Regions from separate parts of the Homo sapiens genome. Here regions 1, 2, 3, 4, 5 and 6 are each linked to region 7. Evidence: promoter capture Hi-C in human tissues and cell types (Jung and others, 2019). All regions are on one chromosome and are shown on one strand. Each heading gives the region's core, a stretch centred on a gene start or on the middle of the fragment in contact. The rest is flanking DNA. Distances are from core to core; before and after follow the strand shown.

Evidence for each region. The method cuts DNA at HindIII sites, captures the fragments that hold promoters and counts their contacts. A contact is called where the count stands out against the background at its distance.
Region 1: a contact is called between a fragment that was not itself captured here and the fragment with the promoter of CCBE1 in region 7, in 1 of the 25 tissues and cell types used here (IMR-90 fibroblasts).
Region 2: a fragment that was not itself captured here is called in contact with the fragment with the promoter of CCBE1 in region 7 in 4 of the 25 tissues and cell types used here (IMR-90 fibroblasts, heart left ventricle, lymphoblastoid cells and 1 more).
Region 3: a fragment that was not itself captured here is called in contact with the fragment with the promoter of CCBE1 in region 7 in 2 of the 25 tissues and cell types used here (IMR-90 fibroblasts and bladder).
Region 4: a fragment that was not itself captured here is called in contact with the fragment with the promoter of CCBE1 in region 7 in 1 of the 25 tissues and cell types used here (heart right ventricle).
Region 5: a fragment that was not itself captured here is called in contact with the fragment with the promoter of CCBE1 in region 7 in 1 of the 25 tissues and cell types used here (IMR-90 fibroblasts).
Region 6: a fragment that was not itself captured here is called in contact with the fragment with the promoter of CCBE1 in region 7 in 3 of the 25 tissues and cell types used here (H1 embryonic stem cells, IMR-90 fibroblasts and aorta).

What each region holds. Positions count from the first base shown.
Region 1 is chr18:59,509,091-59,513,118 of GRCh38, reverse strand. All of the region lies in intron 2 of CCBE1 (collagen and calcium binding EGF domains 1), which reads left to right. Among named protein-coding and RNA genes, the nearest start is that of LMAN1, 150 kb to the right of the region's middle. The HindIII fragment of the contact is 8,998 bases long and covers 1-4,028 here.
Region 2 is chr18:59,825,006-59,829,207 of GRCh38, reverse strand. It overlaps the pseudogene RPLP0P12. Among named protein-coding and RNA genes, the nearest start is that of PMAIP1, 73 kb to the left of the region's middle. The HindIII fragment of the contact is 4,048 bases long and covers 455-4,202 here.
Region 3 is chr18:59,546,929-59,551,019 of GRCh38, reverse strand. The region is part of intron 2 of CCBE1 (collagen and calcium binding EGF domains 1); the gene reads left to right. Among named protein-coding and RNA genes, the nearest start is that of CCBE1, 150 kb to the left of the region's middle. RefSeq lists an enhancer at 3,050-3,563. The HindIII fragment of the contact is 6,701 bases long and covers 1-4,091 here.
Region 4 is chr18:59,492,172-59,496,245 of GRCh38, reverse strand. All of the region lies in intron 2 of CCBE1 (collagen and calcium binding EGF domains 1), which reads left to right. Among named protein-coding and RNA genes, the nearest start is that of LMAN1, 130 kb to the right of the region's middle. The HindIII fragment of the contact is 5,575 bases long and covers 1-4,074 here.
Region 5 is chr18:59,472,303-59,476,487 of GRCh38, reverse strand. All of the region lies in intron 3 of CCBE1 (collagen and calcium binding EGF domains 1), which reads left to right. Among named protein-coding and RNA genes, the nearest start is that of LMAN1, 120 kb to the right of the region's middle. RefSeq lists a silencer at 3,790-3,949. The HindIII fragment of the contact is 7,199 bases long and covers 1-4,185 here.
Region 6 is chr18:59,926,949-59,930,957 of GRCh38, reverse strand. LOC105372151 (a long non-coding RNA gene) reads right to left here and starts at 3,587. Exons shown (of 3, transcript XR_935546.3): 1 at 3,403-3,587. It also overlaps the pseudogene PLEKHB2P1. The HindIII fragment of the contact is 4,531 bases long and covers 1-3,819 here.
Region 7 is chr18:59,695,368-59,699,299 of GRCh38, reverse strand. It overlaps CCBE1 (collagen and calcium binding EGF domains 1), which reads left to right and starts at 1,877. Exons shown (of 11, transcript NM_133459.4): 1 at 1,877-2,088; 2 at 2,591-2,671. The coding sequence starts at 1,958. The HindIII fragment of the contact is 11,314 bases long and covers 1-3,932 here.

The sequences.
Region 1 (4,028 bases), core at 280-2,779, 190 kb after region 7:
CTGGGCTGGTCTCGAGCTCCTGACCTCAAGTGATCCACCCGCCTCCCAAAGTGCTGGGATTACAGGCATGAGCCACTGCTCCTGGGCTCTTTCAATTTTCTTAAATGGACAAACCTCACCCTCTGCTTTAAGAAAACCACACATCCTCCAAAGAAGTCTCATTTTCTTTTTTCCCTCCTGTCGTAGAGGTGCTCTGATGTCTCCTGCCCAGGTTTCTCAGGCTGTGGGTGCAGGATGGGCTCTGAGTGGGAGGTAAGAGGAAAGGGGTGCTGATGTTCCCACATCTTCACCCTCCAGTGAGAGCCGTGGGCCTGCTCTTTGTCTTACCCGGGATTTGTTCCCTAAACACATATCTCAATAATACCCTTTTCCTCATCAACAGCCAGCCAGCTCCATGTCATCTAGCAGACAGTGTGCTGTTTCTAAGAGCAGGACCCTGAGAAAGTCCCTGAGAGTGGAGACTCCCCACTATGGGGTCTTTCCTGCCCTGGGCCTGCCAGCACCACAGGAAGGCGCTCAGCACTTCGTGCCTCTCTGTCTGTCATACAGGGAATGGCACGTGGCCAGCACATTCTTTAATTCTGTTCCTCTAATGGATGAGTTGAGGGCAGTGGGGTTTCTAACTCCTGCTGAAATTAGAAAGGTTCCCTTGTACCCCCTTGCAGGGCATGCAGCAGGCACTGTTGCTCTTTGCTTCAGTGCCCCACTGCTCAAACCTTGAGGGGAGCATACAGATGGGCAGGTTGTGGGGCTCCAACCCCACGGCTGTGTCTAGGGGTAGATGTTTACAGCTCCTGAAGCCCCAGTGGGCATGTGCTATCATGTGCTCTTTCAGTTTTGCCATCTATAGGTGGCTTGTGTTAACCAGGTCAATTAGACCCTGGGCACAGGCCCAGGGATGGAGCCCTAGCCAGGGACCACACCCTTCTCTACCCAGCACTTCGCTTCTTTGGTATCATTTAAAGGGACCACACCTTTCCCAGCACTTCCCTTCCTGCCTTCCTTCCATATCACACCGCTACTGTAGCTCTTAACGATTGCTGGAAGTAGAAACTTGTGTAAACTACCTCAGGTGAAAAAGAAGATTTATCATATGGCTACAGAGGAACTATTAAGCCCAAAAACAAAAAATGAAGGATACATGAGCCTCATGTGAACAAGAAATGGAAATCAAGGGCTAAGGTCATTTTCTCCGTCTCATGAAATGCCTGTTCTGTCTCTCGATGGATTCCGAGTCTGTTCCATTTTGCCTCTTTTTGATCATGTTCCTGTGCTTTTCAACTTACATGGATTCCCCCAAATGGCTACATCAGCTATAGAGTGGGTAGAGTTGTGCTCACAACAGCCTGCTGATGACATCAATCTCTTATGAAGAGAGGTTGGTTAATGGTTACAAATATGCAGTTAGAAGAAATAAGACCTAATGTTTGACAGATCAGCAGGGTGACTATAATTAGCAATAATCGATTGTACATTTCAAAGAAGCTAGAACAGAATAATTTGAATGTTCCTCGTGGAAAGATAAATGTTTAAGGTGATGGATATCCCACTTACCCAGATTTAATCTTTACACATTATATGAATGTAAGAAAATATGTACATCTGCTGTGTATCCATAAAATAACTTTCAAACCTCCTAAGCAAATTTGATTGGCTCAGCCCAACTGTAAATGGATCTCTTCAAGGCTGGTGTTCACTGATGATGGAGCAAGAGGTTCTAAAGTGTGATGTGGGCAAGGGCCTTTCAGGAGCTCTGAATATGTCAAGTTCTCTAGAACTAGAACATAATCGTTATCATTCTGATTAAATGCCATCAATTAGTGCCATCATCAGTGCTCCACTGCTCGTCTTGAACTTCTCTGTCTTCTGTATCTTTGTATCTCTGAAGTTGGAATGTGTTTTTATTGGCAGTTAGTTAGGCACCAGTTAGGGTATAGTTGCCAGTACTTGCAAGTGCACAAACAGCAAACATAGCAGCATAAAAACGAAGTCAGGGTTTCAGCTGCTGGAAAGAAAGTCCTGAAGACACAGGACTCTGGTAGGGAGTGGTGAATCCCTTGTCTTCAGCAGTATTCTCAGAGCAGGGGTCAGACATAGGCTCTAGGTCCTTCCAGAGCCAGCTGAATGGGGCTGGTACTAATGACTGGTAGCTCTCACCACCGATGCTCCTGATGGTATAAAGGACAGTGTTTTGTGATAAAGCTCAGGAGCTGATGACAGTAAGAGAGATTCAGGAGAATCAGAATCCATATGCAAAGACATTTTAAGACCATCTTAACTAGTCTATGTTTCTTTATGCATGCATGCAATATACAATAATCAGGAAAAAATGTATTTTAATCAATATGGAAGAATTTTAGTGATAAGGAAGCATTTATGAAAGTTGAATTGGCAACTGGCCGGGTGTGGTGGCTCCTGCCTGTAATCCCAGCACTTTGGGAGGCCGAGGCAGGTGGATCACCTGAGGTCAGGAGTTCAGGACCAGCCTGGCCAACATGGTGAAACCCCGTCTCTACTAAAAATACAAAAATTAGCTGGGTGTGGTGGCGGGCACCTATAATCCCAGCTACTTGAGACGCTGAGACAGGAGAATCACTTGAACCTGGGAGGCAGAGGTTGCAGTGAGCTGAGATCACGCCATTGCCCTCCAGTCTGGGTGACAAGGGCAAAACTCCATCTCAAAAAAAAAAAAGTTCAATTTGCAACTTAAAAATTATTCATATTATAAAGACTAATGGTGCATCTTACAATTGATAATGTCTCAGTTAATGAGCTTCCATAACAACAGTAGAGGTGGCAGAATTCTGAACTGCAAATATCATTAAATCCTAATAAACATAGCACCCTGCTCCCTCTGTCAGAACTCATGCACACAGTGAAATATGGCTAATGGCCCCAGCATCCTCTGCCATTCACACAGCAGCAAGGATCAATGGACTTGCAGGAAAAATAGATACCCAGATAGATTTGTCTCTCACAATCAAAGGAAAAGATGTTTCCTCCTCTTTGCAGCTGGCCTTCCCAGTGTTGGCGGTATTTGGATCTGCCATGATGATAGCTCACATTTCACAATTTGAACTCCCAGCACCAGTGCAGCTTGGTGTTTGGGTTCCGTGATGTTTTTTTGGCTGGCTTCTCGCCTCTGGCAGCCTGGTGTCCTTGTACAACAAAATGTGCACAGCCACTCCCCTCCCTGGCCTTCCCCTTAGACCATCCCCATGACATCGCTTTGAAAACATGTTGGGTCGCTTAAATAGTTATTCCTTTTCTCACCCAGCTCATTAATAATGAGTAATTTAGTAATTTAGTAAATCAGCCCGATCTAAAAATACTTTTTAGAGGGAAGAAGCCCTCTGGATTTCAAGGTCAGTGCAGGGCGCACATGAAATAGTTGTTTTCCAGTTCCCTCCTGTATGAAGATGGCTTGTTTCCACCGGGCACTGAAGTTCTTCTTTTATGTGGTGTGCTGCTGTCAACTTAAGACATGTGCTAGATTCAAAATGTGGCCAAAATTTGTGTTTCAGTGTGTGCCCCTGAGGGTTTCTGGTTAAGGACCAAGTTTCTTGTTTTTCCTTTTTTATCCCCTTGTATTACATTCAAAATAGCAATATGAACATTTTCCTAGTATTTATCATGCATCTATGAATGCACAACAATCAGAATAAAAATATAATTTCCAGGATTTTGTTTTGTGGTTAAATGATAGCAGTTTATAGATAGTATCATTAAAATTCTTGATCAGACTAGATTGCTATCCATTGTAGCTACTGTGTGTGTGTATATATATATATTTATGTGTATATATATGATTTTTATTCATATCTGCATTTTTACATAGACCTTTTGTTAGCTTTTGACTTTGTTAGGCAATGCCCAGGAGTTAACTACCAATGTTGATAAATAGGGAAATATTGTGGCAGCCACTGCCTTCTGTGGCCAGTTTCTCAGTCTGTCTGTCGAGGACATTAGAGTTTGAGGACCACAGAAGCACTGATTCCAGGTTTGGTTATTAAGAAAAACTGTAGTCT
Region 2 (4,202 bases), core at 1,229-3,728, 130 kb before region 7:
TTGGACTCTGAACCAGAATCCTTTAGAATGAAGGCCATGGGATGAGAGATGTTGTCAGTGTGGCTGATAATCTCATCTCTGAGGCAAAGCTCTTTATGCTGCAGTATAAAAACTCAGGAGAGCCTGGGCACGGTGGCTAATGCCTGTAATCCCAGCACTTTGGGAGGCCAAGACGGGTGGATCACCTGAGGTCAGGAGTTCAAGACCAGCCTGGTCAACATAGTGAAACCCCATCTCTACTAAAAATACAAAAATTAGCCAAGGGTGGTGGTGCATGCCTGTAATCCCAGCTACTTGGGAAGCTGAGGCACGAGAATTGCATGAACCCAGGAGGCAGAGGTTGCTGTGAGCTGAGATCACGTCACTGCACTCCAGCCTGGGAAAAACTCAGGAGAAAAAAAAAACTTTTTCTAGATGGTTTGCACTTAGTTTATTTGATTATTAGTCCCTCTCTGGTTCTACAAAGAGTGAGTGTATATCTGTGTGTGTGTTAGAGTAGTTGATTGGGGAGGGTTCCCTGCTTTTAGCAGAATTATGCTCATTTATCTATTAATAAACATGTTTAATTGACTTGGAAAATCAAGATATTGGATCTCCAAGTAATTCAAATTATTATTCATTTTATTTTGCTGGGTTTTTGTTTTATTTTGTTTTGTTTGAGACAGGGTCTTGCTCTGTTGCCCAGGCTGGATGGAGTACAGTGGTGTGATCATAGCTCACTGCATCCTGGGCTAAAACAATCCTCTCTCCTCAGCCTCCCAAGTAGCCAGGACTGCAGGCACACACCACCAGGCCCAGCTAATTTTTTAACTTTTTGTAGGGATGAGGTCTCCATATGTTGCCCAGGCTAGTCTAGAATCCTGGGCTCAAGCAATCCTCCTGTCTCGGCCTCCCAAAGTGCTGGGATTGTAGACATGAGCCACCACACCTGGCCTATTTTACTGTCTGTAAAATTAAATTGTCGCCTTCTGGCCGGCACCCCTTACATTTCTTTTTATTTTTTGTTCAGAGGATCTATCATTCATTCCCACTCTTACTTTAGAAAAATGGAAATTGCTGCTTTTTTTTTTCAACACTGTCTATTTTTCTTTTTCTATTTATCTGCTGTCCCCTTTATTTTCTTCAGTCTTTCTGTTACTCTAAAGGGGTCCCAATCCAGACCCTAAGAGAGGGTTCTTGGATCTCGTGCAAGAAAGAATTCGAGGCAAATCCGTAAAGTGAAAGCAAGCTTATTAGAAAAGTGAAGGAATAAAGAATGGCTACTCCATAGGCAGAGCAGCAGTATGGGCTGCTCAGCTAGGAAACTTACGGTTATTTCTTGATTATATGCTAGAAAAAGGGTGGATTATTCATGAGTTTTCTGGGAAAGGGGTGGGCAATTCCCAGAACTAAGTGTTCCTCCCCTTTTCAGACTATATAGCGTAACTTCCTGACATTGCCATGGTATTTGTAAACTGGCATGGCGCTGGTGGGAGTGTCTTTTGGCATCTAATGCATTATAATTAGTGTATAATGAGCAATGAGGATGACCAGAGGTCACTTTCATCACCATCTTGGTTTTGGTGGGTTTTGGCCAACTTCTTTTTTTTTTTTTTTTGGCTGAGATGGAGTCTCGCTTTGTTGCCAGGCTGAAGTGCAGTGGCTCGATCTCAGCTCACTGCAACCTCTGCCTCCCAGGTTCAGGCAATTCTCCTGCCTCAACCTCGTGAGTAGCTGCAATTACAGGTGCATACCACCACACCTGGCTAATTTTTGTATTTTTAGTAGAGACAGGGTTTCACCATATTGGTCAGGCTGGTCTTGAACTCCCGACCTCATGATCCACCCTCCTTGGCCTCCCAAAGTGCTGGGATTACAGGTGTGAGCCACTGCGCCCAGCCTTGGCCGACTTCTTTACCGCAAACTCTTTTTTTTATCAGCAAGGTCTTTATGACCTGTATCTTGTGCCAACCTCCTGTCTCATCCTGTGACTAACAATGCCTAACCTCCTGGGAGTGCAGCCCAGTAGATCTCAGCCTCAGTTTACCCAGCCCCTATTCAAGATGGAGTCGCTCTGGTTTGAACACCTCTGACATTTCTGTTTCTCTGGCTTCTGAGGTTTCAGAACAATTATCTTCAATAGGTTTGTGTGGCTAGACTTGCAATTACTTGCCAGAAATCAATCTTTGTATATGTGGTTTGCTGCTATTGGTGGGTCATCAAAAAATGACAAAAAGTGGCCTCAGTGTTACCTGTGTGTCCACGTAGACCAAAAGGCCTATTTTGAGTGATATTTTGGAACATCTCATGTTCTGAAATGTGTGGAAAGCAAGCCACTGGTTGAAGGAAGACTGATTCTGGTGGTATAAGTATAAAGAACTTAACCTCAAGCTGGGGGCTCCCATTGATGTGACCCAAGAATCAATTTCAAATAAAGGGGAGTGCTGAACTTGCTTTCAAGATAGTATTAATATTTACAGACACATCTCAAAAGAAGACATACAAGCGGCCAACAAACATGAAAAAATGCTCAACATCACTATTCATCAGAGAAATGCAAATCAAAACCACAGTGAGATACTGTCTCATGGCAGTCAGAATGGCTATTATTAGGCCATTTATGCCTAGTGTTCCATTATTGGAACGCTAAGCTTGTGGAAGTTGTTTATATCCTACAGCTCAAGGTCATTGCCCAACGTCTAGTTTAAAAAAAAAAAAGAGCAATCTCCAGCATAAATAGGTTAAAAAGTAAAAACTAAAACAAAAACAAAAAAAAAAAAGCAAACAGATGTTGGCAAGGCTGCAGAGAAAAGGGGAGGCTTATACACAGTTGGTGGGAATGAAAATTAAATCAGCCAGTGTGGAAAGCAGTTTGGAGATATCTCAAAGAACTTAGAACAACCATTCAACCCAGCAGTAATTCCATTACTGGCTATATATCCAAAGGAAAACAAATCATTCTACCACAAAGACCCCTGCCCTTGTATGTTCATCACAGTACTACTCACAGTAGCAAAGACATGGAATCAATCTAGGTGCCCATCAATGGTGAACGGGATAAAGAAAATGGTACATATACACCAAGGAGTACTACAAAACCATGAAAAGTATGAAATCATGTCCTTTGCAGCAACATGGTTGCAGCTAGAGGCCATTATCCTAAGTGAATTAACACAGAAACAGAAAAATACCAAATATTCTCATTTATAAGTGGTAGCTAAACACTGGGTACACATGAGGCCGGGCGCGGTGGCTCATACCTGTAATCCCAGCACTTTGGGAGGCCGAGGTGGGTGGATCACCAGGTCAGGAGTTCAAGACCAGCCTGACCAATATGGTGAAACTCCGTCTCTACTAAAAATACAAAAATCGGCCGGATGTGGTGGCAGGCACCTGTAATCCCAGCTACTCAGGAGGCTGAGGCAGGAGAATCGCTTGAACCCAGGAGGCAGAGGTTGCAGTGAGCCGAGATTGCTCCACTGCACTCCAGTCTGGGTGACAGAGCGAGACTGTCTCAAAAACAAACAAACAAACAAACAAACAAACAGAAACGTTGGGTACACATGGACATAAAGGCGGGAACAATAGACATCTACCAGAGGGACTACTAGATGGGGAGGGACATACAGAGGTAAGGACTGAAAAACTACCTATTGGGTACTATGCTCACTACCTGGGTGCCGGGATCAATCATACCCCAAACCTCAGCATCATGCAATAGGCCCATGTGACAAACCTACATATGTGCCCTTGAGTCTAAAATAAAAAGTAAAATAAAAAATAGATAAAGTGGAACAACATCCCCCCAATTTTTTTCATTAAAATGAAATATAATTATTTCACGAATTGGCTATATATATATATATATATTTTTTTTTTTAAATATACTTTTTTTTTTAAAGAAGTAAGCCTTTATTTTCTTGTTTTGCAAATAAAGCTGGCTGATTTAGTTGCTTTTTGGTGATTAGTCAAAGAGACCAAATCCTGTATCCTCATCCAATTCCTCTAACTCTTCCTTGGCTTCAATCTTAGCTGAGGCTGCAGCAGCAGAAGGAGCAGCTGTGGTGGCAGTGGCCACAGGGGTAGCAGCCGCAAAGGCATATGGATCAACCAAGAACACCTTGAACTTTCCAGCAAGTGGGAAGGTGTAATCAGTCTCCACAGACAAAGCCAGGACTCATTTGTACCCACTGATGGTAGAATGGGGTACGGAGGCAACAGCT
Region 3 (4,091 bases), core at 865-3,364, 150 kb after region 7:
TTTTTTTTTTTTTTTTTTTTTGAGTCTCGCTGTGTTGCCCAGGCTGGAGTGCAGTGGCGCGATCTCAGCTCAGTGCAAGCTCCGCCTCCTGGGTTCATGCCATTCTCCTGCCTCAGCCTCTAGAGTAGCTGAGACTACAGCCGCCCACCACCACGCCCGGTTAATTTTTTGTATTTTTAGTAGAGACTGGGTTTTGATCTCCTGACTTCGTGATCCTCCTGCCTCCGCCTCCCACAGTGCTGGGATTACAGGCGTGAGCCACCGCACCCAGCCCACATGACTGTATTTTTCTGTCTCCATGAGTTGGAAAATGTTTTCCAAAACACCTTCAGAGAATGGCACCTGCTGTTTGGGGTTTGCATTAGGATTCTTGAGCTGCTAATGTTCTAACGTCACAGGGCTCACGGTTTGGGCAGGCCTAACTTGTCTGAGGTGCAGCTTTTCCTTTCCTGAGGGAACCTATGAGTACTTTTGAGTCCAGTCCACTTGAGGAAGGAAAAGATTGACCAGGGAGTCAGCCCACTGCGGAGGGTGGTGTTGTGAAGGCTTCTGAGTGCAGATGAAGGCCCTTCTGAGCAGCGACGCCACCAGTTAGGATCCAGAAAACTCTCTAAAGGCCAGATAGTTATTTTAGGCTTTTGAGGCTAGATTGCCTCTGTCACAACCACTCAGCTCTGCTGTTGTCACTCGAAATCAGCCATAGGCAATGTGGAAACAAATGAGTATGGCTGTGTTCCAGCACATTTTATTCATAAAACAGGCAGTGGACTGGATTTGGTCCATGGGTCATAGTTTGCCAATCCCTGAATTAGAGGAAGCTTGCCCACCAAGAGGCTGCTCCAGAGCTTGTGGTGGTTTTGCTGGCTTGGGTATCTATAGGGTTTGAATGATGACACAGTCTCCAGGTAACTTTTGTGTAAACAAGCTAAAGCTGGGGATAAACAAAGCAAACCGGATTGGACCCAGAGATGCTTTAAGGATTCCTGAAAGTGCCCATTCCAATAATGTCCTTGCCCGTTGGCTCCAGAGAAAGCCAGGCAGCAGTCCAACAACCATCTGGCACAAGGTCCTCTATTGTATCCTTGGGCAAATTACTCTGAGTCTCAGCTTGCTTATCTGCATGATGGGGAGGATAATGGGCAGACTCTGCAAAATGAGTGGGCCACTAATGTCACATTGCTGTACTCTTTACCCCATGCCTATTGAGAAGAATCAATTTCAGTGCAATCACTGACCAATGTGGATAGCAGCTGTAGATTATAAGTGCTTTGTTGTCCACAAATTTTGCTAGGGACAAGTTAATTGCCCAACTGGGTACTATATCACTGCAGCACATTTGACTGCTGGGCCTGCCTGTTCATCATATAATAATTGGTGTGTTCTGGCATCTCCCTCCTGACAGTTGCTCAGGTATTAACAGAAGTCAGTGGGACTTGGAGTAAGGTCTTTGCTGTTCCCAAGGTCTTAATCACCTGACTGACAGAGGTTACCTTCCTGAGCCCCGGTGCACCAGATGGAGTTTATTTTAAAAATCAGCTTCAATTACTGCAATAAAATATTAGACGCTCTTAATTCGGTTGGCGTTGGGGGACCTGTTTTTATAGCCCTTGGTGGGGTGCTCATTTGTATCATTTGCTCCTTCAAACTGGAGTTTGACCTGAAATTCTTTAGGAGATGGCATAATAAGAAAAACAGAAGAATAAGAAGAATGGCTTAGCTAAAATTTGCATTCATCCTGATGCATTATTTTTTACCAATGTTACATTTCTAGAACACTGCTATATTTGAATCATACCTTGCTATTTTGCAGTGTGGAATATTTTATACTTGATCACATGTGAAACACGGTGTGGTCTATATATCCAAGTGAAAAGAAGACCCTCACCATGCAAAGTGAATTTTTTTTTTTTTTTTTTTGAGACGGAGTCTTATTCTGTTGCCCAGGCTGGAGTGCAGTGGCATGATCTTGGCTCACTGCAACCTCTGCCTCCCAGGTTCAAGTGATTCTCCTGCCTCAGCCTCCCGAGTAGTTGGGGTTTCAGGAATGCGCCACCATGCCCGGCTAATTTTTGTATTTTTAATACATAGGGGGTTTTGCCATGTTGGCCAGGCTGGTCTTGAACTCCTGGCCTCAGGTGTAACTTTCCTATGTTTAGATGCACAAATACTTACCATTGTGTTACAATTGCATACAGTATTCATTAGTCACATGTACAGGTTTGTAGCCTGAGAGCATAGGCCACACCATATAGCCTACATGTATGGTAGGCTATTTGAACACCTCAGGTAATCTGCCTGCCTCAGCCTCCCAAAGTGCTGGGATTACAGGCATGAGCCACTGTGCCTGGCCCAAAGTGTATTTCTTTGCTTGTGGTGTTCTTGGTTGTAAGGGCTTTCTGCAATGGGTTGGTCAGTTGGTGATTTCATTTGCATGACAGCAGCTGATTTTCCCTATGTAGGGTCTCTCAGGAGGGCTTCCTAGATTTCTTTTTTATATGATTGCGTCTTGTCAGATCACAGGAAATTTAAGTTGCTCTGTTCTTGTTCTTGAAAGGAATCCTGATGACCTAGCCACACCCTGCAATCTCTATTCACCCTAACCCACCTCCTTCATAGGCTGGAAGATCAAAGCCATCCTCTTAAGTTTTCCTTTAGATATAACTCACTATCTTTAAATAATGGAAACCAGAGAAATCAGAAAGTATCCATATAATTTTATTGTCTTCATGTCAGTACAAATGTTCCCACCTGCTCTCCTAACAAAGATATCTTTCTTTTAAAGGAAAGACCACTGAGTGAGAGTGAAGGGGCATAGTCTTGGCCCCAACAAACCACTGGCCAGTGATATGATCTCGGACCTCAGTTGTCTTACTCATAAGACGAGACTGTCTTGGATAAACTCTTGGTCTCTCTCCAGCACTCTTGAACATTTCATCCAGCAGATAGTTCACATCACGTGATGGCACTGTGACCACATTTTCGGTTCTTTAAAGCACTTCAATTCACTGAGTGTCTATTTCTTCATTCCAACCACAAGGAGAATAAAAGTGCAGTGTGTGAAAGTAAAATTCTTCAAAATCCTGGCCAAAATGCCCGTGTGTTCTTATTTCGGTCAGGTTGCACTTTCCTGTGAGAACAGGATGATCTCGGTTTTCTCCTGCTGAATCAGCTGTGGCAGCCAAGCAGGAAGAGCCTTCCTAGTGCCCCAGCACTCTGCTTCTGTCAGCATGCTTCTGGGCCGCCCAGACGTAGCCCACACCACTGGAGGTCTCACTGTTTGCATACATTTCCTTTGTCTCGACCATTTCATGAAGTGTAGCCAGAAGTACTGTCAGCACTCATTAGACCAAAATTGTCTTCAGCTCAAAGCAAATATTTTGTGTGTTGAAATCTTTATCAGGTGTGTGATCCACGTCCCAGGAGTGCTTTTAATGAGCTGTGAGATGTTGGTCATCTGTCACCTTCAGTTTTTTGTGCTAATTTAAATTGCTCTGTTCTTGTGGCTGATGATGCCCTAATCAGAATCTTCAAAGCTGCCCTCTCCCTGGGGCCAATTTTCTGTCTGCTATTGCCTTCTGGACATGTCAACTGCTAGTTGACATCTTGAAAACAGGGCTCTTTGTCTTATCCCCCAAATCAACTTAACTTGCCCAGTTTTAATTTCTGCCAGGAGCTCTACTGTTTTCTCTAAGGTCAACTCGAACTCCAGATCTATGACTGCTCTGTCTTATTTTTTCCACCTCCCTGCTCCCCTCAGATAACCCTCCCCTCACCTGACCTCAGGTGATCTGCCCGCCTTAGCCTCCCAAAGTGCTGGGATTACAGGCGTGAGCCATTGTGCCTCTCTCTCCCTCTCCTTTTCCCTCTCCCTCCCTCTCTCTCCCCTCTCTCTCCTTTCCTCTCTTCCCCTCCCTCTCCCTACCTCCCTCTCTCTCCCTTTCTCTCCCCCTCTCTCCCCCTCTCTCCCCCTCTCTCCCCCTCTCTTTCTCTCTCCCATTCCTCTAACCACAGCCCTGATGGTCCTGCTTTAAACCCCATGTAATTCTCACCTGGGCTTTTACAATATTTTACTAACAAATTCACCTACCTTT
Region 4 (4,074 bases), core at 764-3,263, 200 kb after region 7:
GGAGACACAGTGTGGATGTACAATGGTAGACATCTGTATAGCCTCCTGTAACCCGTAAGATATTCTCTACAGAGCCACCCTTATCACAGAGACTGAAGCTGTAATTGTCAGGGATCAGACTTAAGACACCAAGGCACTATCTCTTAAAATTTGCAAAAAGGAAAAAAAATTATGATAAGTGACAAACTCCATAGGACTCAATATAGAGATGGGGTAGTTTCTCTCTTCTAATTAAACAATGCTTCCACTATCAAAGAGCCTAAGTTGTTTTAAAAGAGTATACCCTACACCAGGAACATCTCTTCTTGGGCCTTGGAAGTCCTGGTTGAGTTTAGTCACGTGTTGACCAGCGTGTGATCTACTCTTTGAGAACCACCACTTGTGTAGGTTTGTCCAGAGGTCATTACCACCCGAGAGCGGCAGTTGCCTGGAGAACCAGGGCGGCCGCAGTGCCCCCTCGTACATCTTGGGCTGTCATACCGAACTTACTGTGCGTGCCACATCTAAAGGCACATCAGAGGGTCAGAGGGTCATCTTCCTTTTCCACGTGTTTGCAAAAACACTTCCAAGTCATAGCTGCTCACATATACCAATGTGTGGAATGACCAAGACAAGTTTCTTAAAAAAAAAAAAAAAAGGCAAGCACCCAGGGATGGCGTGGGCCAAGGACATGGCTGGGGAGATGTCCACGTGGCCTAACTGGGCACAGTAAAGAAGCCAGAGAGTTAAAAAGGGAAGAGCTAGTCAGGGAAGTGATGTCAAGGATGCCAACAAACTGGCTGTCTGAACCTGAACAAATCACTTTCCTATTTTGAACCTCTGTTTCCCGCTCTGGAAAAAAAAAAAAAAAAAGAGGCCCTGGACTTGACTGTTAAGGTCTCCCCTTGCTCAAGAATTCTCTGGGTCTGAATAATTATCCAAACCGATTATCCAAAGTACATAAACGGTGATTAACCATGTTAATCACAGTTACGTAATTGTTATATGAAAGTGTGAAATGTTCCATGAATGGCTATTTTTTTTTCAGAGAAAAAGTATAGGTCAAAAAAAGTACACCTCCATCCTCAGGGGAAAAAAAGAAACATGAGCTAGAAGGAATTATTTTAAGACAGATCTTACCTGTTGCCCCAGGCTGGAGTGCAGTGGTGTGATCTCGGGCTCACTGCAACCTTCGCCTCCCAGTTTCAAGCAATTATCCTGCCTCAGCCCCACAAGTAACTGGGACAACATGCCTCGCTAATTTTTTGTATTTTTAGTAGAGACAGGGTTTTACCATGTTGGCCAGGCTGGTCTCAGACTCCTGGCCTCAAGTGATCTGCCTGCCTTGGCCTCCCAAAGTGCTAGGATTACAGGCGTGAGCCACAGCACCTGGTCCCTCCCTGGGTGCATTTATCCATTGTTGGCTTCATCTGCCATGCTGCAGGTCGTCGCTAGAGCTCCATGCCCTGCCTTGCCCTGGAGCTGCCTATAGCCTAAAACATATTAAGCAGCATGTTCAAACTGAATGTAATACCTTCTAGTCATCCCCAACTCTGTGCTGTAAAAATCTTTTGTAATTAGCTCTCTTCTGATTTAATTCATATTCATTCATGGCAACCTCATCCCCCAGGCAGCTCTACAAAAATAAATCTCTAGTCTTGGACTTCTCTGATTTTTTTATTCTGTATATCCAGTGTGTTAGGAAGTCCTACAGATTTTAACCCCAACATTAAAAAAAAAAAAATCTGTCCTCATTTTTCAACTCCATGCTCTTATCTCTAGGCTGAAATATTTTAGTAGCCTTTTTAACGACTCTGTCTGTAGTCTTTTATTTCCAGCCTCTTATGCCCTACAGATTAAATTAGGTTCAGGTTTGGGAGAGACATCCTAAAGGTTGTCTAAGGATCATCTGAACCAAGGATGGAGAAAATTATTCCCCAGAGGAAAGCTGAGCTTGCACAACAGAGAAAGTGGATTTGGGCCACCCTGGAGGGGCAGGGCTGGTAGTGAATGAGGATGGGTGCCCCTTATGTATATCTTTCTAGGGCAGAGGCAACTCCAACCTATGTATTTCCCTGGCTCCTGAAATTGAGTTTATCCTCTGTACTGAGAGGACACATTACACTTCTGTTACGAAGCTTGTATTGCTCTGTCTTGTGTGTCCCTAGCCAGGTGTGTTAGTCCATTTTCATGCTGCTTCCTGAGACTGGGAAGAAAGAGGTTTGATGGACTTACAGTTCCACATGGCTGGGGAGGCCTCACAATCATGGTGGAAGGCAAGGAGGAACAAGTCACATCTTACATGGATGGTGGCAGGCAAAGAGAGAGAGCTTGTGCAGGGAAACTCCTGTTTTTAAAAAATCATCAGATCTCATGGGATTTATTCACTATTACTATAATAGCATGGGAAAGACCTACCCTCATGATTCAATTAGCTCTTACTGGGTTCCTCCTATGACATGTGGGAATTGTGGGAGATGCAATTTGAGATGAGATTTGGATGGGGACACAGTCAAACCATACCACTAAGCATATCCATTTCTCCCACATTGCTCGTTTACCAAATGTAAATCTTACTAATCTGTGTCTCCTGTAACACGCAGTTCAGGGAAGAGGTGGGCTCTGGAGCCCAGCAGCCTGGGCTCATGTCCTGGCTTAGCTACTAATTTTAACAAGTGAAGTGCTCTATGCTCCAGCTTCTCACCTGTTAAAAAAAAAAAAGTTTTTATGAGAATTAAATAATCTATGGAAAATGCTTATCTTGGTATATAGTAAGTTCTTCTTTAAGTCAAACTTAATATTTCCAGTTTTTAACTGATCGGAATAGAAATTTTTACTGTGATATTGGGTCACTGTGAAGTTCAGAATTTAAAACAAATAGAAGGTTCCTCCTCTCATCTGTAAATGATTTAAAGTAGAAATCCTACTTTCGGTGTTACATGAATTTCTCCTTCCAGTGACTTAGGCCTGAATTAATGTCCATTGTATTTCATTGTCCTTGAGGATTTTATGCATGTGAGGAATGGGATCTGTCACATCATGATTTATTAACCTAAGAAAGACTATCTCAGATCACTTCCCTTTTTGTCTTCTCAAAGTCATTACAAGTGAAACTCTCTCCTTTAAGACTGTCCCATTAATTTCTCAAGTGACTGACCTGCAGACGAAACTTGGAATCAGCAAATTGTATTTACAGATTCCTGTACTGATCTATCTCCCTGGAAATGCCACATTTATACAGTGAACTGCAGCAGAAAGGCCGAGCGCCACTGGAACTGCCCACAGTGTGGTGGGAGGAAGGATCACAGCCCTGTCCAAGCAGAGCCTCCTTTCACATTGGGTAATTTACAAGGAAGGCTCTAGACATTTACACTTCAAGGGTCAGCATTCTGTAAGGGTCAAGGGCTCCATGCACAGTTGTTACTGGGGCAAAATAAAGGCCACATCTTCTCTGGGCCTCTTTAGGTGCACTGACTCTGCATTTCAGTGGCCTTTCTTCCATTTCCTTCTGTCATTTTGGCTTTGGATGTGTATTGGGCTTCTGTAATTGAAACCAAAAACAACAGCTTAAATAAGATGGAAATATTTTTCTCTTATGCACAACCGAGTGGTGTCACGGATACAGGTTTCTTGTGTATTGATCTACATCACTAGGGCATTGACGTCACATTGTCCAAAATGGCTCATCACCTCCGCAATCACATTCACACTCATGGGAAGGAGAAGGGGAAGGAGGGAGGGAGGGCATGTGTCCCATCTGTTTAAGGGCACTGCCTGGAAGTTGCCCACCATCAGTCACTCACATCCTGTTGGTCAGTCTAATCCATAAGACCATACCTGGTGGGATGAGAGGCTGGGAAATGTTACCTTAATTCTGGGTGGTTATGTGCCCAGCTGTAATTTGGATTTCGGTTACCATAGATAAAAGGGAATAGCAGATATGGGAAAACGGCTCTGTCACACTAGTGACCTGAAAACGCAGCTGTTGTAGGTAATTTGGGGCTTCTACCAGAGGGAAAAAAAAATAGAAGGCAATATTTTAAAATATGCATGTGGATTATTTGCCATAGACCTCTGGCTACACCAAGAATGCTT
Region 5 (4,185 bases), core at 1,108-3,607, 220 kb after region 7:
AAAATATCATCTGGCCCCTTAACATAAGTTTGCTGACCCCTGCTAGAAGTGATGTCTTGATTGGCCAGGTGATAGGATGATCTCATTTGTTCTACTTCAGCAATTATTAATTCAGCATAAACTGTGGGAAGGGAGCAGTACTGGTTTCTCAAGGGGACACAGTCCCTGCCAGGTAGCTGAGCAGTCATAAGAACCAGCAGCAAAAGAAGCAGAAGAGCAGGTAAAGCTTGTACTGTGCATCGGGCACAGTGCTTAATGGCATCATCCAATTTAATCTTCATAAAAGCACCATGAAGTGTGGGTATTATTATCTTTATTTTGTAGGAGCTGAGGCATAAAGAACCCAGGATCACCGAGATAGTGGCAGAGATGGGAGGGTTGTCCCAGAACCTATACTATGCACCCTAAAGCTACATACTTCCTGGAATAGGGCCTGGCACAGAGTAAGCATTCAGTAAATGTGGAAGAGTAGCCAGCCGCAGTGGCTCACGCCTGTAATCCCAACACTTGGGAGGCCAAGGCGGGCGGATCACCTGAGGTCAGGAGTTCAAAACCAGTCTGGCCAAAATAGTGAAACCCTGACTCTACTAAAAATACAAAAATTAGCCAGGCCTGGTGTCTGGCACCTGTAATTCCAGCTACTCCAGAGGCTGAGGCAGGGAGAATTGCTTGAACCAGGGAGGTGGAGGTTGCAGTGAGCCGAAATTGTGCCAGCGCACTCCAGCCTGGGTGACAGAACGAGACTCCATCTCAAAAAAATAAATAAATAATAAATAAATATAGCAGAGCATGGGAATAAAAGAGGTATAGAGTCCCATGGGCGGTGAGAGGGTAGACAAACTAAACTCTGTTGAGGAGGTCAAGGAAGGCTTCTTGAAGGGGTAGCATTTGTATCAACTCTTGAAAAACTGGATAAGATATCAACAATTATAAAAGGACATTGCAAGAGGTAAAAACAGAATAAACAAAAGTATGGAGGTGAGAAGGCAAGGATGTGAATAAGGGGTGAAGAAAAAGAGAAGTTAGTTTTGCTGCAGTATAAGGAACTTACAGATAAGTCTCAAGGTTAGAAAAGTCTCAAGGGATATAATGCCAGAACTTAAATACAGGAGCGAACCATTTATATTTCATGTTGATTAGTAGCAAGTTGTAAAGGTTTTTAAACAAGGGGATGGTGTACACAGTGCTATGCTTTGGGAAGGTTAGCCTGGCAGTGTTATCCCAAATGGATTTAATCTTGGGATGGTAAGAATCTTGGGATGAAGATCTTGTTTACAAGGGAGTTTCTGAAGGTCTGAGTTAGAATGGTGCCAAAAGAAATAGGACAGAGAGGATAGAAAATAGATACACTGTAAAGATAAAAGCTACATGACTGAAAGCTGGTAGGCTCTGGGGAACAAGCATCAAAAATGGAGGACTGAATAAATTCATTAATCTTGCCTCCTCCAGAAAATGCACAAAATGGGCAGGGCAGGAGGAGGAGGCTGGAAAGATTCACAAAAGACAAACCCACGAGGACAAAATGGGAAGAGGAGATAATAGCAATAAAACTTTGGAAGCTGGAGAACAGAGAGGGAGGTGGTAAATAGCTTAGCACAATCCAAAAGGTTGAATTGTAGCCAGCTTAAGGAAACCAAGGAGCAACCCCAATTTACACCAAAACAAACAGTAATCAGTAACACTACAAATAAACTAGAAAAAGGGGTAAAAGTAGTGTGAAAACAGGATTGATTAAAAGTTTAAGAAGAAGTCAGACTCCTGGATCTTGTCCTCTGCTCCATACAGACAGGATATTGCCTTTTCCACAACCAGACAGAAGACAGAAGATATATTTTCTAAGAGAGTACACCAGAGGTTCAAGGATCTGAAGGAGACCAGTCAGCTGAAAATGAATGCCCAGTACTGAAAAAGGAGGGTTTCGGTAAATGCTCACACATTGAATTTTGAAGCCCTCAGCCTTCTCCCTTCACTTGAGTTCCAGAATGACTTCACTCTCAGGCAAGGATTTGGAAATGTCTTCTGTGGGCATTCTAGACAACCCAAGGAAAAGGTCTTAAGAAACTGAACTTGTAATGCACTGGCCAAATCACTTACAGTGATACCCAGATGTCATAAAATCATAAAACTATATGCAAACAGATTCTATTAATCTGTTTTAAATACACCGTGAATAAACTAGAGCAGCCGTCTCAGGATCATCAGATATTAGAGGGAAACTACCATTTGGCCCAGCAGTGGTATATATTCAAAGGAAAATAGATCATTACACCAAAAAGACACATGTATTTCTATGTTCATCACCGTGCTATTCACAATAGCAAAGACATGGAATCAACCTAGGTGCCCATAGTAGTGGATTGGATAAAGAAAATGTGGTACATATACACCATGGAATACTACACAGTCATAAAAAAGAATGAAATCATATCTTTGGCAAAAACATGGATGGAGCTGGAGGCTATAATCCTAAGCAAACTAACATAGGAAGAGAAAAACACAAGTACCACATGTTCTCACTTATAAGTGGGAGCTAAACATTGTGCACACATGGACATAAACATAGGAACAAGACACTGCAGACTAGTAGTAGGGGGAGGAAATAGTGGGAGGGTTGGAAGGTGAGTAGTCGGGGGAGGAAATAGTGGGAGGGTTGGAAGGTGAGTAGTAGGGGGGAATAGTGGGAGGGTTGGATGATGAGTAGTGGGGAGGAAATAGTGGGAAGGTTGGAAGGTGAGTAGTGGGGGAGGAAATAGTGGGAGGGTTGGAAGGTGAGTAGTAGGGGGGGAGTAGTGGGAGGGTTGGATGGTGAGTAGTGGAGGGCGGAAATAGTGGGAGGGTTGGAAGGTGATACTGAAGAAGTTTTCCAAGCACGAGAGCAAGAGATCAAAGAAATTAACAATAGGGAAAAAAAAAGATGAGAATATTAGACATAAAGTCCAGGGGATGCAACATCCAAATAATTTAAAATTCCACACAGAGGGAGTAAGTTCTTAAAGATATAATTCAAAAAGTCTTCAGAATTGAAGGATATTAATTTCCAGATTATAAAAAGGGTTTACCAAAGATTGAAGTGGTACCATATAAGTCCTAAAAATTTTTAGGGAGGAAAAAAGATGTGATTCATACAAAAGCTCAAGAGTTTGAATCTCACAGGACTTCCCTGCAGCAGCATTGAAAAGCTGGAAGACAATGGAACAATGCCTTCAAAATTCTGAGGCAAAGTTTTCCAACCTAGAATTATATACACAGACTATCAGTAGTAATCATAAGGGTTGATAAAGTATATTTTAGACATGCATGATCTCAAAACTTTTACCCCTTTTATGACATTTTTCAGGAAGCCAATGGAGAATATTCTCCACTAAAATGAGGGAGTAAACTGGAAGAGAGAAAGACATGGATATATGGTTTGGCTGTGTCCCCACCCAAATCTCACATCGAACTGTAATAATCCCCACGTGTCAAGGGCAGGGCCAGGTGGAGATAATTGAATCATGGGGGCAGTTTCCCCATACTGTTCTCATGGTGGTAAGTCTCACAAGATCTGATGGTTTTATAAATGAGAGTTCCCATGCACAAGCTCTCTCTTGTCTGCCACCATGTAAGACATGACTTTGCTCATTTGCCTTCTTCCATGATTGTAAGGCCTCCCCAGCCATGTGGATCTGTGAGTCAGTTAAACCTCTTTCCTTTATAAATTACCTAGTCTCAGCTATGTCTTTATTAGCAGCGTGAGAACAGACTAATACATGAGAGATCCAGGAAACAGGAATCCAACAAAAGAGAGAGGGAGGTGATGGGCATCCCTAGGTTCATGGTGAATGCACATTCATGGAGGCAGCTGTAGGCTGGGCGCGGTGCTGGTAATCCCAGCGCTTTGGGAGGCTGAGACGAGGATTATTTGAGGAGTTCAAGACCAAGAGTAGTAGCTGCTGTGCAGCAGACCTACAGAGTCCTAATTAGAGCAAGTTGAGATTAATTTGAAAAAATGTCTATAAGAAGAGATTCGCAAAATTGAGGGGATCTCTGGTGATGAATCAGTGATCAATTTGTAGAAAACTGAATATGTAGATTGAATTGTCCAGAAACAGAGCCTTCACCACTTATTTAACAGAAAGCAATTAATATGAAGAATTGCTAACTAGTAATTGAGAACCAAAAATGCAAAGGAAAACTAAGTATCAT
Region 6 (4,009 bases), core at 305-2,804, 230 kb before region 7:
CCTTTCAAAACAGCTAGGCTCAAATAAAGTATTCCGAGACTTCCGTAAGGACAGTCCTAGAATGAGCCAGTGCCCCTGGAGAGCCCGTGTTTGAACAAAATAGCACAGTTCTGGCCGGGCGCAGTGGCTCATGCCTGTAATCCCAGCACTTTGGGAGGCCGAGGTGGGCAGATCACAAGGTCAGGAGATCAAGACCATCCCAGTCAACATGGTGAAACCCCATCTCTACTAAAAATACAAAAATTAGCTGAGTATGGCGGCACGTGCTTGTAATCCCAGCTACTCGGGAGGCTGAGGCAGGAGAATCACTTGAACCCTGGAGGCAGAGGTTGCAGTGAGCCAAGATCACGCCACTGTACTCCAGCCTGGGCGACAAAGCTAGACTCCATCTCAAAGAAAAAAGAAAAAAGAAAAAAATAGCACAGTTCAAACCTTTCTCTGTGGTACTTATGTGGATTAGTTACAATTATGATGTCACTACTTTCAAAGGAACGATTAAAATTATTATTAAAAACATTTGTCACAAACAGAAATGCCCTGTAAATCATATTACTGCACACAGGGTTATCAGGAGCTAGGCACATCAAGACCTTACGGCCTCTAGAAGACCAAGAATAGAGACCCTAAGGGCATGACTATGGCCACTCCTGCCAACATGCCCACTGCCAGGTCACTGTCATTGTCTCGATATCACTCTTGAATGATGACTTGGTTAGCAGGCTGCTGTCCATAAAGTCCTGCATACGAGTACTGGTAGGGCACAGCATACGCCTGTCCATTAGCAGCATAGACAATTTGAGTTCCTGGCAGGCACACACCACTGTATGGCTCATAGCCCTATTCCTCAGTGGCTGGTGCAGCATAGGCCGTGTGTGGTGGAGGGGAGGAAACCACGGGTGTCTCATCAGTCATGACTGTGGAGCCCACATAGGCTGTGTTTGTCCTGGAATCTTGGAGTGTAAATTTCCAAGCCAAGCAATCACTGTGTTTTCTGCACAAAGACTAATTGTTTTCCCATCTGAGCAAACAATCTGCAGCATGCAGTCTTTTTCCATATATATATATCATATATATAAATTATATATGATACATATTTTAATAAGAATATTATATATTATATAATTATATTTAAATATTAATGTATATTATATTTAAATATAATTATATAATATATAAGTATTATTTATTATACAATATATAATATATATTTTATACATTTTTTGGGGGGGAGCAGGATCTCATTCCGTCACCCATGCTGGAGTGCAGTGGCCCAATCTCGGCTCAATGCAACCTCCACCTCCCAAGTTCAAGCAATTCTCCTGCCTCAGCCTCCCAAATAGCTAGGATTACAGGTGCGTGCCACCATGACTGGCTAATTTTTGTATTTTTAGGTGAGACGAGGTTTCACCATGTTGGCCAGGCTGGTCTCGAACTCCTGACCTCAAGTGATCCGCCTGCCTCGACCTCCCAAAGTGCTGGGATTACAGACATGAGCCACCACTCCCGGCAGTTTGCAGTCTTTTGACTTTCCATGCAGAGGCTGACTATCCCGACATTCCTGCCTGGCAGGGATATTGAGGCATTCCACTTGCATGCGGACCTTATCCTCAACACTCTGCCAAGTCTGGTCATCATAATAGGTCAGGTACCATCTGACCACAGGTCAAACCAATTCTTATTCCAGAACTTCAATATAGCACTCTGTTGCAGCAACCAGCCACTCTTCAGGCCATCTCTTCACCCACCAGCCAGAGTGGAGAATGCAAAGACTCCACTGGGTTTCCTCAGCTCCAACTGTCACACCAATATCTATTCTTCTAATGTAATACTGCATTTGGTTTGTGAATATTTTTTCTAGAACTTTTACACCTATATCCATAAGTAAAATCAACCTATAGTTTTACTTTTGAAATATCTTTATTGGCTTTTATAAAATGTAATGCTAGCTTTCATAAAATGAATTGGGAAACATAAGATAATTTGGGGTGCTTTTCATCTACTTCTAACGAATGATCATTAAACTCTTATGAGCCAAGGAGACCTTTAAAAATTTAATGAAACCTTTGGACTTGAGCCCTAGAAAATAGTATGTGCTCACTTAAGCTTAATTTAGCATACAATTTACAGGGGTTCTTCAGATTTTACTCTGCATTACAACCCTGGCCACTAGAAGAGGGACTGAGTATGTCTTCGTCACCATCCAGCACTTAATGGAGGTGCTGGGGGAATGGGGCACCCGTTCCCCATAGTTTGCCCTGTGTGTCTCTTCATTTGGCTGTTCTGAGTTGTATCCTTTATAACAAACCAGTAAATGTAAGTAAAGGGTTTTCCCATGTTTTTCCATCAAATTCTCAAACATGAGGAGAAGGGCATGGAAACTCCTGATTTATAGCCAGCCAATCAGAACCAAAGTGCAGGTGGCAACTCAGGACATGCGATTGGCATCTGAAGTGAGGCCAATCTTGTGGGACTGAGCCCTTAGCTATGGGACCTGCACTAACTCCAGGTAATAATTATCAGACTTGAATGGAATTGTAGATCACCCAGTTGTCCGAAGAACTAGAGAACTGCTTAATGTGAGGGGAAGAAAAACAAACCCACACACATTTGGTATCAAAAGTTTTGTGAGTCAACACATTTCAGGCACCAGTAAGCTGCTGGAATAGTGCCCCCTCCATTTCCCCAGGTCACTAATGAAGTGGAGGAAAACTGCAGCCTCTTTCTCCCTTCTGTCTTTTTTCCTGCTAAACTAAAACAGACTGGAAGCAGCGTTTGAATTGGTTTTTGTTTTACTCATATTCCATGCAGCTAGCTTCTCTGTATAAAGGCCCCATGCACTTAGAGGAAAAACATCTTGCTTCAACTTCCACCTATGAAACTAGAAATTTTGCTTTTAATCCAGCTAGTGCAGTAGATTTTACACTACCTATTTTTCAAGTAAGAACATTGAAATGTAACATTAATTGGTCCAAGTTCACACAACATTGCAGCATCAGGGCCCAACGGGGAAGGCTACTACAGCAGTTACTGCTTCGGGGGACCACCACTGCATCACCCCATATACAAGGTGTTCAATCATTCTCCTCACACGCGTATCTTTTTCTAAATCCACCCACATTTGAGAAGTTTCTCTGGTTCAATTATTTCATGGAGGAGGCAGAGATGGCTCACCTCAAGGAAGTCACACCAGAGTGGGGAAGAAGGGACAGAAACCCAAGAGTAGGAATCCTTCTCCCAAGCACACAGTGAGAACTAGGTTGGCAGGAGTTGAGTGTCATTAAGCTTTTAGTCTCCCATGTATGTCTTATCAGGCCCCACAACAATTCTTTGCGGAACGTTCAGGAAGAAAAGGTCACATGATAAACAGCTGTGTCTTCCCCTTCCCTAATCTCATTCACTTACCTCCAGAAACATGTTTCATTCTGACTAAGTCTTGGCCTAGACATTCTGTGATCTCAGACTTATCAAACGGCTTTGACATTAAGCTTGGTCTTTCTTGCCAATTATAGATTCCTTTCTCTGTTAAAACAGCCCTCTAGCTCAGAACGGAATTTCAACACCATCCCTGGACTTTCCCTTTGGGCAGGTCTAGGAGCACTCAGCAAGATGATTGGTTCAGCAACTGTGATTGTGACAATGGGTTTTCAGTATGAATCTTTTCTAGAATTCTGAGGCACCTGTTAGGAAGCGTGCTTGGGCTTGTGAATCTCCAAGACAGGCACTCATTTTCTTGTTTAGGCCTCTTGTGCAACTGGCCTCATTTTTTAAATTCACATATTAGTTTTTTCCCCACACCGATAGTTTCTACTCTTCCTAGAAAATGTGATGCTAAAACAGAAAAACAGTGGCAGACTTATGTCCATGGAAGATGATAATACCTAGCTGATTATTAGTAACAATAGCAGCAAACACTTAGGTAGCACTTACTTCATGTCAGGTACTGTTTTAAGTTCTTTCTATATATTAACTCTTTTCATCAGCACAGCAACCCTATGAGGTAGGTCTAGTG
Region 7 (3,932 bases), core at 628-3,127:
GCCTGAGTTTGAATCCAGTTTTTTCTGACCTCATGGTTTTTTTTTTCTGACCTCATGATGATCACTCTCCAGTTTTGCAACATCCTGAAATGTCTTCTGAATTATCAAATAAAAATTAACTCATTTGTGTTAAGTAGCAGTGTCATATTTTAATATCAAGTGGGTGGTCTTCCGAATATGTAAGTTTTGTAAAATAAGCCAACAAAAAACACACCTCACAGAACTAAGAAATCAGATGCTCAGATTGAAGGGATATTGTGGGAACCAAATAAAATCTTGAATATGAAAAATCTTAGGAAAAGACATAGCATTCTACGGAAGAATGACAATGTCATTGCTATCAAAAATATCAGTGTGGGCTGGCTGCTATGGCTCACGCCTGTAATCCCAGCACTTTGGGAGGCCGAGTTGGGCAGATCACTTGAGGCCAGGAGTTTAAGAGCAGCCTGGCCAACATGGTGAAACTCTGTCTCTACTAAAAATACAAAAATTAGCCGGGTGTGGAAGCATGCATCTGTAATCCCTGCTACTTGGGGTGCTGAGGCAGAAGAATCTCTTGAACCCGGCAGGCGGAGGTTGCAGTGAGCCAAGATCGAGACACTGCACTCCAGCCTGGGCGACAGAGTGAGACTCCGTCTCAAAAAAAAAAAAAAGTCAATGTGTATGTGATATGTGTGGTAATTCTCAGTTGACCAGCATATTCTGTATATCAAAATATGTGCTTACCTAACCAATTTACACACCGGTCACTTGTGAACAAGCCACCTTTTTACCTCGTTGTCCTGTGAGATGCAGAACCACGCATATTTTAGAGCTTAGGCATTAGAACTTTTCCTTTTTCAACTTATTTCTGGGCCACATCCACGTCCCCAGTTTCTCTGGAAAAGGCTGAGAAAACTCCTAAAGCGCAACAAAGTGTTAAGTTGCTGACACACGAATTACAATTAGGGTCACCGTCAAGGGAGCCGATTTACGGCCCCCCTCCTCCGTTTTCTTGTTACCTATCAACGCGGCTGCATACACTAGCAGGTAGCAGCACCTGTAATTAATTTGCCCCCACGTGTCTCATTTGATGGGGGGGGGCGTTTCCAGCTCTGATGTGCGCGGCGTGGAAACAGTATTAAAGCCGCTCAGGACAAGGAGATGTAAGGCTCCCAGAAAGACCTCCTTACTTGTTCCGAACTCGAGTTATGAAGAAGACAGCGCATGGTTTATTGACCAATGAAACAACCAGAGAACTTTCTTCTAAAGGTTTTAAGGAAGAGTGATTACACTATATAAATAGCGCTATTTCAGGTTTGAACAATTTGAGAGGCCCGTTGTAGCCTTTCAACTCCTCCTTCCTCACATAATCTAAGAGAAAAGAAGACTAAGATAGTTGCAAATCTCAGGGTAGGTCCTCACGGAGGAAAGACGAACACTGGCCTGACCCTGGGCTTTAGAAACCCATGGACAACAGGAAGGAAGCTTATTAACCCCTCTCTTCCCCCTCCCTCTTCTCCCCGGTGGAGAATCAGCTCCTCCTCCTCCCGGTCGTGAGACCCTGGTGCAAAATGCAAACAACCGCCCGCTTTCCCCACCCTGCGCGCTTCTCCCAGAGGAGGGAGAGGGAAGAGGCGAGGGCGCAGCCCCAAGCCGAGTCCAGCAAGTCTGTCAATCGGACGTGAACGTCCCGACGAGACAACTTGAACCTCAGGGCCCTCGCGCCAGCCGGACACCGCAGGTACCCCCTTTACCTGCTTCTCTGCTGGGTTTGCATCCGATACCCCAACTCCTAGCCTCATTTTCCCCCCAGCCCCATAATATTCCGGACCCCTGCTCCCCGTGCAGGTGGTGCAAACGCCCCTGCTCTCCGGCGCCCCCTGCCGGGAAGAGGGAAGGCGGCGGCGGCCGCGGAGGAGCAGGACGCTTGGTCCGGACGGAGCTCGGCGCTGGGAAGAAGCCGGGAGCTTCCCTGATGGTGCCGCCGCCTCCGAGCCGGGGAGGAGCTGCCAGGGGCCAGCTGGGCAGGAGCCTGGGTCCGCTGCTGCTGCTCCTGGCGTTGGGACACACGTGGACCTACAGAGAGGAGCCGGAGGACGGCGACAGGTAAGCGCTGCAAGCCCCAGCGGAGGGCGAGCTCCTGCTTGATGCGCGCCCGGCTCGCGGGGTGCGGGCGGTCCTCCCCGGCGCCCACTCCCACAGCGATCCGCACGCCCTCACTTCTCCGGGGATAAGGAGAGTGCTCAGCTGTCCTGGGCGACACTTCCCTCCGCTCCCGGGTATCAGCCTTTGCGCCCTGCCATCCGTGGGTCGCGTCAGGGATACCCTTCGCCCCGCGTTCCTGCCTCCCCCCGGGTGCCACACTGGCTGGCACAGCTCGTGAACCCCGCTTCCTTTCTCCTGGAGCTGGTTCGCTTCGTCGTGACCCTCGCGTGGCTCGTCCCTGTGGCCGGAGTCTGCCCCGCGTACGCGTTTGGGGACCAGCCCCTGCCCAGAGCGCCGGGACGGGGAGCCTGGCGATCCCCACGCGCCAGGGATTCCCCAGCGCGCGCTGCCCGCCTCCGCTCTCCCGCTGAGAATCGAACATTTCCTCTGCACTTTTTCATAGAGAAATCTGCTCAGAGAGCAAAATCGCGACGACTAAATACCCGTGTCTGAAGTCTTCAGGCGAGCTCACCACATGCTACAGGTAAGCCTGGGGGCTCTGCGGGCTGTTCGCCACTGCGCACCGGGGCTGGCTGGGGAGGCGGCGCTGTAAAGGAGGGGTTTGGAGACGCGCTTGGGACCGGAGCAGCTTTTACGCTGGAACCTGCTGGGTGCGTGCCGCGCGGTGCGAATCTTTGAGGGTTGGTTGGATCGGAGTCAGAGCAACACTGAGCAACTGACTTTGCGTCTAGGGTGTGTGCCCTGAGATCCTGAGGATGGTTGCCGCTCCCTGAAATACTTGTGTGGAAGTCTGTGAAGGAGATTGGATTGGATTTTGGGTGTAAACAGTGGGGCATAGCAAACACGGGTGGCTGCTTTCGTATTTGTGTTTTGTTTTGAAAGTACAGCGTCAACAAGGCAATTCTTGGCACTTGTCTGTCTTCTGACCTTCTGTTGGGGCAGAGTGTGGCTGTCACGGCCTCTGGACAAAAAAGTAGGGGGAGGATTGTGAGTGGTTGTGTTGAGTGAAAACAAAAAGATTGTTGGGGCAGAGGAAAAAAGTCTTTCTAAAAATGTGGGCCACAGATTCACCTGGGTATTTGTTAAATGAGTGACCCGGGTGCTTGTTAAAACTAAGCGTGGATGGGGCTAGGGAATCGGTAGTTATAAAATGTTCCCCAGGTGGTTCTTGTCTCTGAAAGGAGAGAACCACTGTTCTGCTTGCAGCCTTTTGGAGATGAGGGTTGATTTAGGTTTTTCACCATTGAATTCTTGGTTCTGTTCCAGTGCTCTCACTGGATAGGGGAACATGCACCCATAAACGTTTATTGGATATCTGCGTTTTAGAGGCGCTGTACAAGGTAATGTGATCATATGCCCACACCTGACTGTCTCTGGAGACTCACATGCTCTGTTCGGGTTGCCAGGATAAATACTGAGTAGTACAAGGTAACGCAGCAGTCCCTAGAAACGAACTTGAAAGAAAACAATGTTTTATTCCTTATAAGGTTGTAGCCTGTGAATCAATCATAGCGTTTCTTGCAGGTGAGAGCATTTCATATACCCAAAGGTTCAGACCAAGTGGTTCCACGGCTGTCAGTTTATGGGTGCAAAAGCACCATCAGTTACATCGCGTACTTCTGCTCTTAAATCTGTTGTTGGCAGTGAAGGGACAATAATCAGGCAAATCAAGTCACTCCTTGGGCTTAGGAAAGGCTCCTTTCTCTTGGCGTGTGCGGGGGGTGAATGCTGAACAAAATGAGAGAGGTAGTAGAGGAGAAAGGAGTATGTTCAATTGGCAGGTT